Linked DNA regions of Homo sapiens: all the other regions are linked to region 1. Evidence: promoter capture Hi-C in 16 types of primary human blood cells and fetal thymus (Javierre and others, 2016). All regions are on one chromosome and are shown on one strand. Each heading gives the region's core, a stretch centred on a gene start or on the middle of the fragment in contact. The rest is flanking DNA. Distances are from core to core; before and after follow the strand shown. Region 1 holds the start of EDDM3B (epididymal protein 3B). Region 2 holds the start of RNASE3 (ribonuclease A family member 3). Region 3 overlaps LOC100507513 (a long non-coding RNA gene). Region 4 has its middle 38 kb from the start of RNASE3.

Region 1 (2,797 bases), core at 147-2,646:
AGATCATGTGTCCAAAAGAGAATGATATTTTAAGGTTTATGTCCTTGAAGTGGAAAGGGTTGTCAGATTTTAGGGAAATGTAGAAAATGAGTAACTACTTGGGAAGTGGTTCCTAGGTAGGAAGGCTTCGATTCGCTAAAATGACAGCCTAGCCTGCAATTACTTCTTGCCTGCTTCTCCAATTACTTAATGATGCTTCTCCAATCTTGACTTCCTTATAACACTTTCTCCAAAGCCTGAGTGGAACGTATGTTCATTACTAACTACCCATATTCCTTCTCAGGGGTCATTCCCCTAATTATCACTATTACAAATGATCTTGGTTTGTCAGAGCTGCTCCTTGAAAATGTCATCATAAAATAACTCCAGTTTTGAGGTTTTTATTTGTTTATTTATTTTTGAGACAGAGTCTCACTGTGTCACCCAGGCTGGAGTGCAGTGGCACAGTCTTGGCTCACTGCAACCTTCACCTCCAGGGTTCAATAGATTCTCTGTCTCAGCCTCCCACGTAGCTGAGATTATAGGTGCCTGCCACCACACACAGCTAATTTTTGTATTTTTTTTAGTAGAGACAATGTTTCGCCATGTTGGCCAGGCTAGTATCAAAATCCTGGCCTCAAGTAATCTACCCACCTCGGTTTCCCAAAGTGCTGGGATTCTCAGGCATGAGCCACTACACCCAACCAGAATTCCAGATTTGAAATATTCCTGTAATCAATCAAGCACCAAGACTAAAAGAGCCCCCACAGTGGCTTCTGTGGTGATAGCATGGAGTGTGGGGATCTTTTTGAAAGAGTCTACCGTTTAAACTAGTGCTCTGTCCTCATTTACCATGAGAAGTGTTCCCGCCCTTACTGAATCTCTAACCTGATTCACAACTCTGAGCATTGGTGTCCTCAGATGGACTTAATAATAGCTCCCTACAGACCTGCAAGTGTCTAATGAGACGCATGTATTTGAGAGCACTTCTAATGATGTCAAATGTCCACATCAGACACAGAACAAAGGGTCGGTACTTCCTATCTGTGGAACCCTGTCCTGATGATAAAGACCTACAGAGGATAGAAGAGCAGGATGTAAGCGGTTTTAATGCATTGTGTTTGAGAAGACTGGGGGTGAAGGAAGGGAGGGGCAGGGAAAGCCTGTATCAGTGGGACTGAGGCTGACCAGAATTCACACCTTTGTTTTCCATGATTTGGATCCTTCTCCATTGTTTGCTATCTAAAAGTTCAATCAGCCTCCTTTCAGTGCTCCTGGCTGTCCCCCAAACATCCTCAGCAGAGCCCTTCTTACCCTACTCAGACTCCAAGTTCAGGTCACTGGTTGTAGTTGGGATCAGTGTGTGGATCTGAAGAGCAGAGTCTGAGTCCTCCTTTCCTCAGGGCCCTGGAAATCTGCAGCAGTGGAGAAAGGAATAGCAGGGGGAGCTGCAAGGCTCCAGCTGATTGGTAGTGGAGGTGGTGATGGGGAATAGCCTTATTATGTGAACTTGTTCCTGTATCTTCTCATCTGGAACACTTGAGTTTATTCAGACAGTGGCCTCAAGCAAAGGCTACAAACATCAAAGGCTGACTCCAGGGCACAGAAGAAGTGCAAGACCCTAGAGTGAGGTGACCCCAGAAAGGGGTTATCTGGTGCTATCAGTAGACAACGAGAGACCTGGCTTCTGCACTCAATTTCTGACAAAGTTCTGGGAAGTCCCTGGAGGGTTATGCTATGTTACACAGAAACTTCTCTGAAGAAAGCCACTTATAACATTGTGAACTGTGGGACTTTCGTTGAGAGGTGAAAGAGTATCTAGTGAAACTGGTGGCCAGATAGTTATGATTAGGTAGCCAGTATCTGAAGTTTTACTAGGCAGTTTGTTATTGTCGATGAAACGAGTCAGCTGGGTGTGGTGGCTCACGCCTGTAATCCCAGCACTTTGGGAGGCCAAGGCGGGAGGATCACCTGAGGTCAGGAGTTCAAGACCTACCTGGCCGAGGTGGTGAAACCCCATCTCTACTAAAAATACAAAAATTAGCTGGGCGTGGTGGTGGGCACCTGTAATCCCAGCTACTTGGGAGGCCGAGGCAGGTGAATCGCTTGAACCTGGGAGGCAGAGGTTGCAGTGAGCCGAGATCACGCCATTGCACTCCAGCCTGGGCAACAGGAGCAAAACACCATTTCAAAACAAAAGAAAAGAAAAAAAAAAGAGTCAAACTCTGTAAAATATTTGAAGAGATTTATTCTGAGCCAAATATGAGTGACCATGGCCTATGACACAGCTCTCAGGAGGTCCTGAGGACATGTGCCCAAGGTGGTTGGAGCACAGCTGGTTTTATACATTTTAGAGAGGCATGAAACATCAATCAAATACATTTAAGAAATACATTGGTTTGGTCCAGCAAGGCGGGACAACTCAAAGCTGATGGGGAGTGGAGGGCCTCCAGGCCATAGGTGTATTTAAACATTTTCTGGTTGACAACTAGTTTTGTCTAAAGACCTGAGATTGATAGAAAGGGAATATTCAGGTTAAAATAAAGATGGTAGAGACCAATTCTTTCGAAGTCTTATAGTGGCTGCCCTTAGAGACAATAGATGACAAATGTTTCCCTTTCAGATCTTAATTAATATCTTTAGGATTGGAAGGTCTGGAAGAAAAATATTTAGCTATGTTAATAGAGATTCTTTACAGATGCAAATTTTCCCCCACAAAGAACAGCTTTGCAGGGCAATTTCAAAATGTGGCAAAGAAACATGTTTTGGGGCAAAATACTTTTTCTTGTTTGTCTGGTAATGTTATGCCAGAGTCAGG
Region 2 (2,797 bases), core at 158-2,657, 120 kb before region 1:
AAATCATAATGAAGCACGTGCATTTTCAGCTGATTCACTGCAGCTCTTTTTTTCTTGGGATAGAAATCATGTCAATAAAAACCATAGTCGGACCATAAAGCATCAAATGGGACCTCAATATCAAATTGGGCTCAATTCTGGAATACAACTAAAACAAGTGGAGATCTATACACAAGTTATAGGTTGGTGTTGGGGGAGGAGTCAGTGGATGGAAAATTGCTTAGAGGAGATATTAAGGCTAGGGAGACCAATGCTAAGTTGACTCAATTGGATTTTTTTTTAAGGCAGGCCTGGAATCAGGTATCACATGAAGGATGATGGGGGAATTAAGGAATTTGGTCAGATATTGAGGGGGAGAGATTCATGATAAACCCAAATCTCTAGAGCAGATTGTCACTAAATGACAGCAGAGCGGCCGAGGAAGACACACAGACACTTCCAGATGAATTTGCAAAGCAGTTTATTGCAGGGTTCACAAGGGACTTCAGCTCAGGAAAGCTGAAGGGGTATGGAGACTGATGAGGACAGTTGCTGATACCCAGAGTACATGGAGGGATGGGATCTTGGCTATGATTGAGGAGCTTGGCAGATGAGTGATGATGAGGACTGCTGATACAGGAGCTTAGATGGTGGTATCCAGGTGAACTGGAACCACAGGATACCGTGGAGAATCCCGTGGATCTCTGTTGTCACATGCAACTACATAGAACCTCCTTCCTGGTCTGTCTGCATACGTGCAGTTTGAAATATTCTGTGCACCTGGATTTATGAGGTCACAGTGGAGTAAAGGCACCCGGAATCTACTCCGATGACAATTGTTGAGAGTTCTGTTATGAGGGCAGCGTATACTTTGGTTACCACAAACATTAACTACATTAGCAAAAGTTGTACGAAGAAAAGTATTTTGGTTTTTGCAACGCCATCGATAATTGTTAATTGCCCGCATTGCAATGGTGCATCGAGGGGGGTTCAGACTGATGTGCTGGATGGCAAACCACTGAGCCCTCGTAAACTGTGGGGGTCTGGCATGGAGTGAGCCCTCCACACCCATAAGCCCCAACAGAAGAAGCAGACAAATTTGGGAAGTGAACAGTTTTGGAACCATGTTTCCTGTAAGAAAAGAAGAGAAGTAACTACTCCCCGATCCGGTCTCGGTTATGACACACTCTATAGTGTCTCAACCCACAGGCCCCTCTGCTGCCACTCTGGGGTCGCATTTCCTTTTCTTCCTGTCCCCAAAGTGTGCCACATCTCCTAAGCACTAACTTCAGCTCACCTCTCCCTCAGGTGCTGCCCTGTCGCTGCCCCTCCTGTCCCAGCTCTGGGGATTGTTGACTTACCCAGTCTCTGAGCTGTGGCTCCTGTGAGAACTGATCCAGCTGGTTGTTCTGGGGTTCAGGGGCAGCTGGTCTCCCCTACTTGGAACTGTTTAAATAAAGCTTCCCTTGGTGGGTCTGGCCATGCAGAAACCCACAGATTGACACATGGTCCACTTGTGCAATCATCCTTTTTATTTGATGACTTGGCTGAGCAACGGATACCCAAGGACAGCCCTGCTGCTCTTTCTGCTATACGGACTCTAATTCCAAGTCATCCTGTGTTAGACAGAGTTTTGCCGGTGGGATCTGGACTCTGGGTGAAAACTATACGCTGCCGGCAGAATGACCACAGATTTTATAACTGTCCTCTGGCAGGCCCCTAAATGACTAAATGACACGAAGGCAGGCATAGTAGTTAGGAGAAATAGAGCCACAGAGGGCTGTTTGCCCAGGAGAAACCCAGCTTCCCTTCCATTTTTAGTAATATCCTTGGTTCTCTCTCACATAAATGCTCTCCATCTCATCCACCACTCTTGCTGGAAACTTGAGCTATTAATTTCTTGGGGCACAAGATTCTGTAGATAATTAAAACAATCTGCTCCATACAATTGAGGAATTTTTTTCTTTACTCCTCTTGCATTGGATCCACTTTCTCTTAAGTCTTGCCCTGATTATTGATTCCACTTTGTGTAAAGTTACATAACCTAAAAACACACCGAGGACAGTTGTAAAATCTGGCAGAGGATGAATGAACATTTGGTGTCATGAAAGATTCCAACCTAGCACTCGGTATTCCTGTGATCTTTTCAGCCTATGGTATTTTCTACAAAACAGTGTGTTCTGGGGTTGTCATTCATCTTCCTGGTAAGTTTCATTTTGTGATATTAACAAGAATATGGTTCTGTATTTACAAATGAACATTTAAGGACAGAGCACTGTATTCCTGAAAGTATAGAGGTCAAGTGTACAGTTTGATACACAAAGCATACATTTATTCTTGGCCCTCAGAGAAACACAGGAAAGTACTTGTAGACATATAATTGTATTACAGTGTGATAGAGGTAATAGCATTTGTGTGAACATGGTGTCATAGGGACACTGCTGGTGAAGGAAATCACTTGGCTTGAGAAATAAGGAAAACTTCAAAAAAAAGTTTATTTCAGCAGGTCCTAAAGGATAAGCAGGGGATTTTCAGGGGATTTAGAGAAGAGATGAGCATTCTGGGCACAGGGGATGATGTGGGGAAATTGTACAGAGGTGAGAAGTGAATTGCAAAGGTAAGGCCTGGGTACTAACAGATGTTAAATCTGGTCTAGCTTTGAGATTAGAAAATGGAAAGTAGACCCTTAAATGATATAATATACCTTCCAACAGTTAATCTGCCTAATTTTTACTACCGTCCAATTTTCCTGTCATTTAGAAATGCAATAATTTTATCACTGGGGTCCTTAGGTAAATGTGGACACAATGGTGACCTG
Region 3 (2,797 bases), core at 144-2,643, 100 kb before region 1:
GCACAACATATCTGAGTGGGTCAATCAGAGAGATGGTAAGTGGAGCTACTCCTGCTTCTACTTCTCGGTTCCTGGATCCGTGTATTCTTCCTATTGGGAACACAGTACCCTTTACAGGCCTCTGATTTAATAAATACACTGCATCCTGAAGAATGATACCCCATACTTTCATAATGTTACCTCTTAGCTGCTGCTTCAGCTGTGTCTTTGGAAAGTCAGTTTCTCTTCTTTCCTCCCTCCCTCCTTTCTTTCTTCTACCCTCCTTTCTTCTTTTCTCTCTTTTCCGTTCCTTCCTTTCCTCATTTCTCTTTCTCTTTCTTCCTCCCTCCCTCCCTTCCTTTCTTTCCTTGAGCTGAAATGGCTTGCACCTTCCTTTTCCCACATAAACACCAATGGACTCTTCCCATTAGTCCTCTAGTTTCTTCCAGAGGTAGGTGAAATTATTGAAGAGACTTCAGCAGAAATTAGGGAAGATCTTCTGAACTGTGATTAAATGGAGTGTGGTCGTTTACCTAATTATCCTTGGTTATCACCTTCTGTGATTGTGATTTTACTTATTAAGCAGCAGAGCCATCTGGCGAAGACCTGCATTACTTTTTAATCTTATGCTTGCCTTTTGTCTTTCCCAGATTTGATAAATGGTTGGTCCTTATGATCCACTGATGCAGACTACTTGGGAGGTCCCAATGTCCTGGTGCCCAAAGGCAAGATCATTTTTCCCCCTGCAGTGTTTCTGTCTATCATGATGATGTGAGTGGGCTCTTATTGGGGGTGCCTAATGCTGCCATAAAGAAAGAGTTTTCTTGGCTTGGTGCAGTGGCTCACGCCTGTAATCCCAACACTTTGGGAGGCTGAGGCAGGCGGATCACGAGGTCAAGAGATCAAGACCAACCTGGCCAACATGGTGAAATCCTGTCTCTACTAAAAATATAAAAATTAGCTGGGCGTGGTGGCGTGCACCTGTTGTCCCAGCTACTCGGGAGGCTGAGACAGGAGAATTGCTTGAACCCGGGAAGTGGAGGTTGCAGTGAGCCGAGACTGCGCCACTGCACTCCAGCCTGGCGACAGAGCAAGACTCCATCTCAAAGAAAAAAAAAAGAAAAGGTTTTATCTTCTGAATTAAGCTGTATCCCTCTGAGCTAGTCAGGGAAATAGGCAATCTTTTTTTCTATGGCTCATAGATACTGGTATCACTGGTTATCACTTGTGATAAGTAAGCAACATCCTTCCTTCATAGATTTATAGCTCAGTGTTTGGCATATGCCCTATAATTATTATCACAAGCAAGGTGTGCAGAGGCAAAGTTTTCTAGGATACAAGCACCTGTCTGTTTTGTTCACCTCTCCCTATATGGCACTTAGCATAGTGCTTGTCATATCAAAGGCACTCAGAAATGTTAATTAAGTAAATATTAGTGATGGAAGAATGTCTTTCTATTGTCTTCACATATGAATAAAAAGGGGGCCAGGGGCAGTGGTTCATGCCTGTAATCCCAGCACTTTGAGAGGGTGAGGTGAGTGGATCACTTAAGTCCAGGAATTTGGGACCAGTCTGGGCAACATGGTGAAACCCCATCTCTACAAAAAATACAAAAATTAGCCGGGCGTAGTGGCACACGCCTGTAGTCCCGACTACTCAGGAGGGTGAGGTGGGAGGATCGCTTGAGCCTAGGAGGTGGAGGTCACAGTGAGCCGAGGTTGGGCTGCTGCACTCCAGCCTGGGAGACAGAGCCAGACCCTGTCTCAAAAAAAAAAAAAGTTAACTAGATAAAACATCCTTTGTTTCTGGATGTCCAAAGAGTTGTTTTTATTGTTTCACTGAAATGTCATGGATTAATATAGTCTGTATTCCTGTATTAGTAGCCTGCTATTACTACACAAAAACATTCGAATGCCTTCTCTTTTGCTGTATTTTAGACATTTTTCAAAAGCCTAGGTTTCTGTGTTGCTTTTGCTTATGCTGAGACTCGGTGATCTCCACCTGTTTCTAAAACCAGCTCCCTATCTCCTGCTGAAGAATGTTCCTTTTGTTCTTTGACTTTTGATTCTGTGTCTTGTGTTTTAAGGTTCAGTTTAGGAATCTCAGTATACTTTAGGTTGATTCCCTGGAATTCAAGTGAGATGCATTTTTTTCTTTTTTTGAGAAATTAATTAACAATTTATGCTAATGTGTGGATGTTTAAGTTCCTGGCATTTGACTGAGCTTTGTAATGTGTACTTTCTACACTGTGGAAAGAAGGAGTTCTAAAAATATATATATAGCCAGGTGCAGTGGCTCACGCCTCTAATCCCAGCACTTTGGGAGGCCGAGGCGGGTGGATCATTTGAGGTCAAGGGTTTGAGACCAGCCTGGCCAACATGGTGAAACCCCGTCTGTACTAAAAATACAAAAATAAGCCAGGCATGGTGGCAGGTGCCTGTAATCCCAGCTACTCGGGAGGCTGAGGCAGGAGAATCGCTTGAACCCAGGAGGTGGATGTTGCAGTGACCTGAGACTGTGCCATTGCACTCCAGCCTGGGCAACAAGAGTAAAACTCCATCTCAAAAAGAAAAAATATATATATTCTCAGAAAGAAAATATATCTATCTATCTATATAGATAGATAGATAGATTTCAAAATATGAATTTTTTTTTCCTATCAAGATAGAAGATCCTGTTAATAAATTTGGAGAACAATTAGATATTCAACAAGTAGACATTGTGCATTTCTACTTAATGGACATCTGTATTGCCAGAATGCCATTGAACATGATCCTGCTTTTAAAGTAGTGGTTGTCCAAGAAAGGAGTACGAGGCT
Region 4 (2,797 bases), core at 154-2,653, 84 kb before region 1:
GGTCTTGAACTCCTAGACTCAAGTGATCCTCCCACCTCAGCCTCCCTAAGTGCTGGGATTATAAGCATGAGCCACTGCACCCGGCCAAAAATAACGTGAAAAATTATTTTAGTTCTCTTTCACTCAGATAAAGCATGAAAGCTGATTACTTTTCTTCTTCTGATAAAGGTCTCTATGCTTCTTCCGAGAGAGAGATTTTGGAACAATGGGAAGAGTCTGAATTGAGTCTTTCTGTCCTCGATCATGACCTGAGCAGTCTGTTCACATCAAGAGCACACAGTCTGTCCTCTTGGGGTGCATTGCGCACCGTGTGAAGGCTGCCTAACTGTGTGAGAGCTTGTTCTCCAGATGGGTTAACTGAACCCTCTCAATCTCACAGACTGTGCACATGTCCCTAATTAGTAGCAAGGCTTCCTTCTCCGTTCTCCACCCTTGGAGAACCCTGGAACTGCCCCTACCCCACTCTAACTCCTCTTGTCTACAGCAATGGCTTTAATCTCCTGAGGTCACCCATCACTACCTCCCTTTAATGTACATTCCAGTCACAAATATGGGATAGGGCGAGGTGTGTGGCTCTCATGCAAAAAGCCCACAGGTACAAACAAGGACAGACCTGCAGAAGTCTTTCTTCTGACACCTACATTCTCTCAGTCGTGTACCATATTAGGACCTTGCCAACAGTTCTCTGTCACCTGGTGAATGCCTACTCATATTTCAAGCCTGAATTTAAGTATCAACTACTCCAGAGCCTACCTTGGAAAAATTCCTATTCTTTCTTTTATGTTCCTTGCACATTTAAAACTTGTTATTTATAGTTTGGTTCCCCACATAGAACTGTAAGTCCCTTGAGGACAGGGACCACGTCTTATTTATCTTTGTATACTGACAGTGCGTTGCAGGTGCTTAATAAATAATTGTCAAATAAATGAATTACAGTGAACATCTATCGTAGGAAGGTCTACAAGGTAAAAAGAAGCATAAAGCAACATTCCCTTTACCAGTTTGCTTTCGGTTTAGGTGGAGAGATATGATATGTTTATAGAGAGAGACAACTGAGAGTGCAGGCTGTAAAAGCACAAAGTCAGCAGTGTAGAAACAGATTCTGTGAGTTCAGAGAAGGACTAGCTCACCCAGGGCTGAAATGTTTGGGCAAGTCTTCTGGGTGGTCATGAGTGGTTAGGTGAAATTTGGAGGTGGGTAGGACTTGCATAGGTGGGAAGAGGCACCCCAGGCAGTAGGAATGGCAAATGTGATTCAAAAGGAAAATTCAGACGATAGTAAATAGACAAATTTGGCTAGAGTATTACATTTAACATTGATGTAATAATTTTATCAAATGTACTGTTTGTGTTCAAATTTGTTAGTTGACCCACAATCTTTTTTGAAGTATACTTTCTCCCCCCAGTGCAGGCTCCAGGCTAGCGTCAGGATGCAGTTAACTGCCAAAACTCTTTAGCTACCTTTAACCTGAATCATTTCCACAGCCTTTCCGTGTCTTTTTGGTCTTCAACATTTTTAAAGAAATCACAAAAGAGAAGACCTTTTTATCCCACCTTTTTGAGAGATTTTATCTTTTAGAGTAGTTTCAGGTTCACAGCCCCCCAACAAGCACAGCCTCCCCCATTATCGACATCCCCCCACCAGAGTGATACAGTTGTTACAACCGAGAAGCCTGCATTGATACAGTATTATCACCCAAAGTCTGTAGTTTATATTAGGGTTCACTCTTGGTCATGTACATTCTGTGGGTTTTGGCAAATGTATAATGACATGCATCCACCATTATAATATCATGCAGAATAGTTTCACTGCTCAAAAATTTTCTGTGTTTGCCTATTTGTCTCTCCCTTCCTCCTTAACCCCTGGCAACTACTGATCTATTTACCATTTTCATAGTTTTGCCTTTTCCAGAATGTCATATAGTTGGAATCATACAGTACATAAAGTATGTAGTAGCAGCTACATACAGTAGTAGCCTTTTCAGAATAGCTTCTTTTACTTAATAATATTCATTTAAGGTCCCGCTATGTCTTGTCATGACTTGAGAGCTCATTTCATTTTAGTGCTGAATAATATTCCATTATTTGGATGTACCACAGTAATTTATCTATTCAGCTCCTGAGGGACGCCTTGGTTGCTTCTAAACTTTGACAGTTATGCATAAAGCTGTTATGAACATCCATGTGCAGGTGTTTGTGTGGACATAAGTTTTTAACTCATTTGTGCAAATACCAAGGAGAGTGACAGCTGGATTATGTGTTAAGAGTGTGTTTAGTTATTTTTTTTTTATTTTTTTTGAGATGGAGTTTTGCTCTTGTTGCCCAGGCTGGGGTGTAATGGCACAATCTCGGCTCACTGCAACCTCTACCTCCTGGATTCAAGAGATTCTCCTGCCTCAGCCTCCCAAGTAGCTGGGATTACAGGCATGTGCCACCACACCCAGCTAATTTTTTGTATTTAGTAGAGACGGGGTTACACCATGTTGATCGGGCTGGTCTTAAACTCCCGACCTCAGGTGATCCACCTGCCTCAGGCTCCCAAAGTACTGGGATTACAGGTGTGAGCCACCGTGCCTGGCCTGAGTGTGTTTAGTTTTATAAGACACCTCCTTTTTTAACATTCTTCATTTTGGGTTTGTCTGATGCTTCCTTATGATTAAATTCAGGTTATGCATTCTGTTTCAGAATACTGCATAGGTGATGTTGTGTCCTCAGGGCAATAAGCCTGGAGGCATGAAACATCCATGTGTCCTGCAATGATGATGTCAGTTGTGATCACCCAGGGAAGATGCTGTCAG

Evidence for each region. The method cuts DNA at HindIII sites, captures the fragments that hold promoters and counts their contacts. A CHiCAGO score of 5 or more calls a contact.
Region 2: a contact is called between the fragment with the promoter of RNASE3 here and the fragment with the promoter of EDDM3B in region 1, in 2 of 17 cell types (naive B cells and total B cells). The highest score is 5.8, in naive B cells.
Region 3: a fragment that was not itself captured here is called in contact with the fragment with the promoter of EDDM3B in region 1 in 10 of 17 cell types (M1 macrophages, total B cells, M2 macrophages and 7 more); the score reaches 11.0 in M1 macrophages.
Region 4: a fragment that was not itself captured here is called in contact with the fragment with the promoter of EDDM3B in region 1 in 6 of 17 cell types (M2 macrophages, M0 macrophages, M1 macrophages and 3 more); the score reaches 10.4 in M2 macrophages.

Annotation. Positions count from the first base shown.
Region 1 is chr14:20,767,003-20,769,799 of GRCh38, reverse strand. EDDM3B (epididymal protein 3B) reads right to left here and starts at 1,396. Exons shown (of 2, transcript NM_022360.5): 1 at 1,294-1,396. The region is part of intron 1 of LOC107984671 (a long non-coding RNA gene); the gene reads left to right. RefSeq lists an enhancer at 1,409-1,688. The HindIII fragment of the contact is 10,803 bases long and covers 1-2,797 here.
Region 2 is chr14:20,889,995-20,892,791 of GRCh38, reverse strand. RNASE3 (ribonuclease A family member 3) reads right to left here and starts at 1,407. Exons shown (of 2, transcript NM_002935.3): 1 at 1,341-1,407; 2 at 444-1,110. The coding sequence starts at 1,105. The coding sequence ends at 623. The region is part of intron 1 of LOC100507513 (a long non-coding RNA gene); the gene reads left to right. The HindIII fragment of the contact is 4,045 bases long and covers 1-1,441 here.
Region 3 is chr14:20,868,289-20,871,085 of GRCh38, reverse strand. It overlaps LOC100507513 (a long non-coding RNA gene), which reads left to right. Exons shown (of 4, transcript XR_110261.4): 4 at 630-851. Among named protein-coding and RNA genes, the nearest start is that of RNASE3, 22 kb to the left of the region's middle. The HindIII fragment of the contact is 5,154 bases long and covers 1-2,797 here.
Region 4 is chr14:20,851,491-20,854,287 of GRCh38, reverse strand. No RefSeq gene overlaps it. Among named protein-coding and RNA genes, the nearest start is that of RNASE3, 38 kb to the left of the region's middle. The HindIII fragment of the contact is 3,390 bases long and covers 1-2,797 here.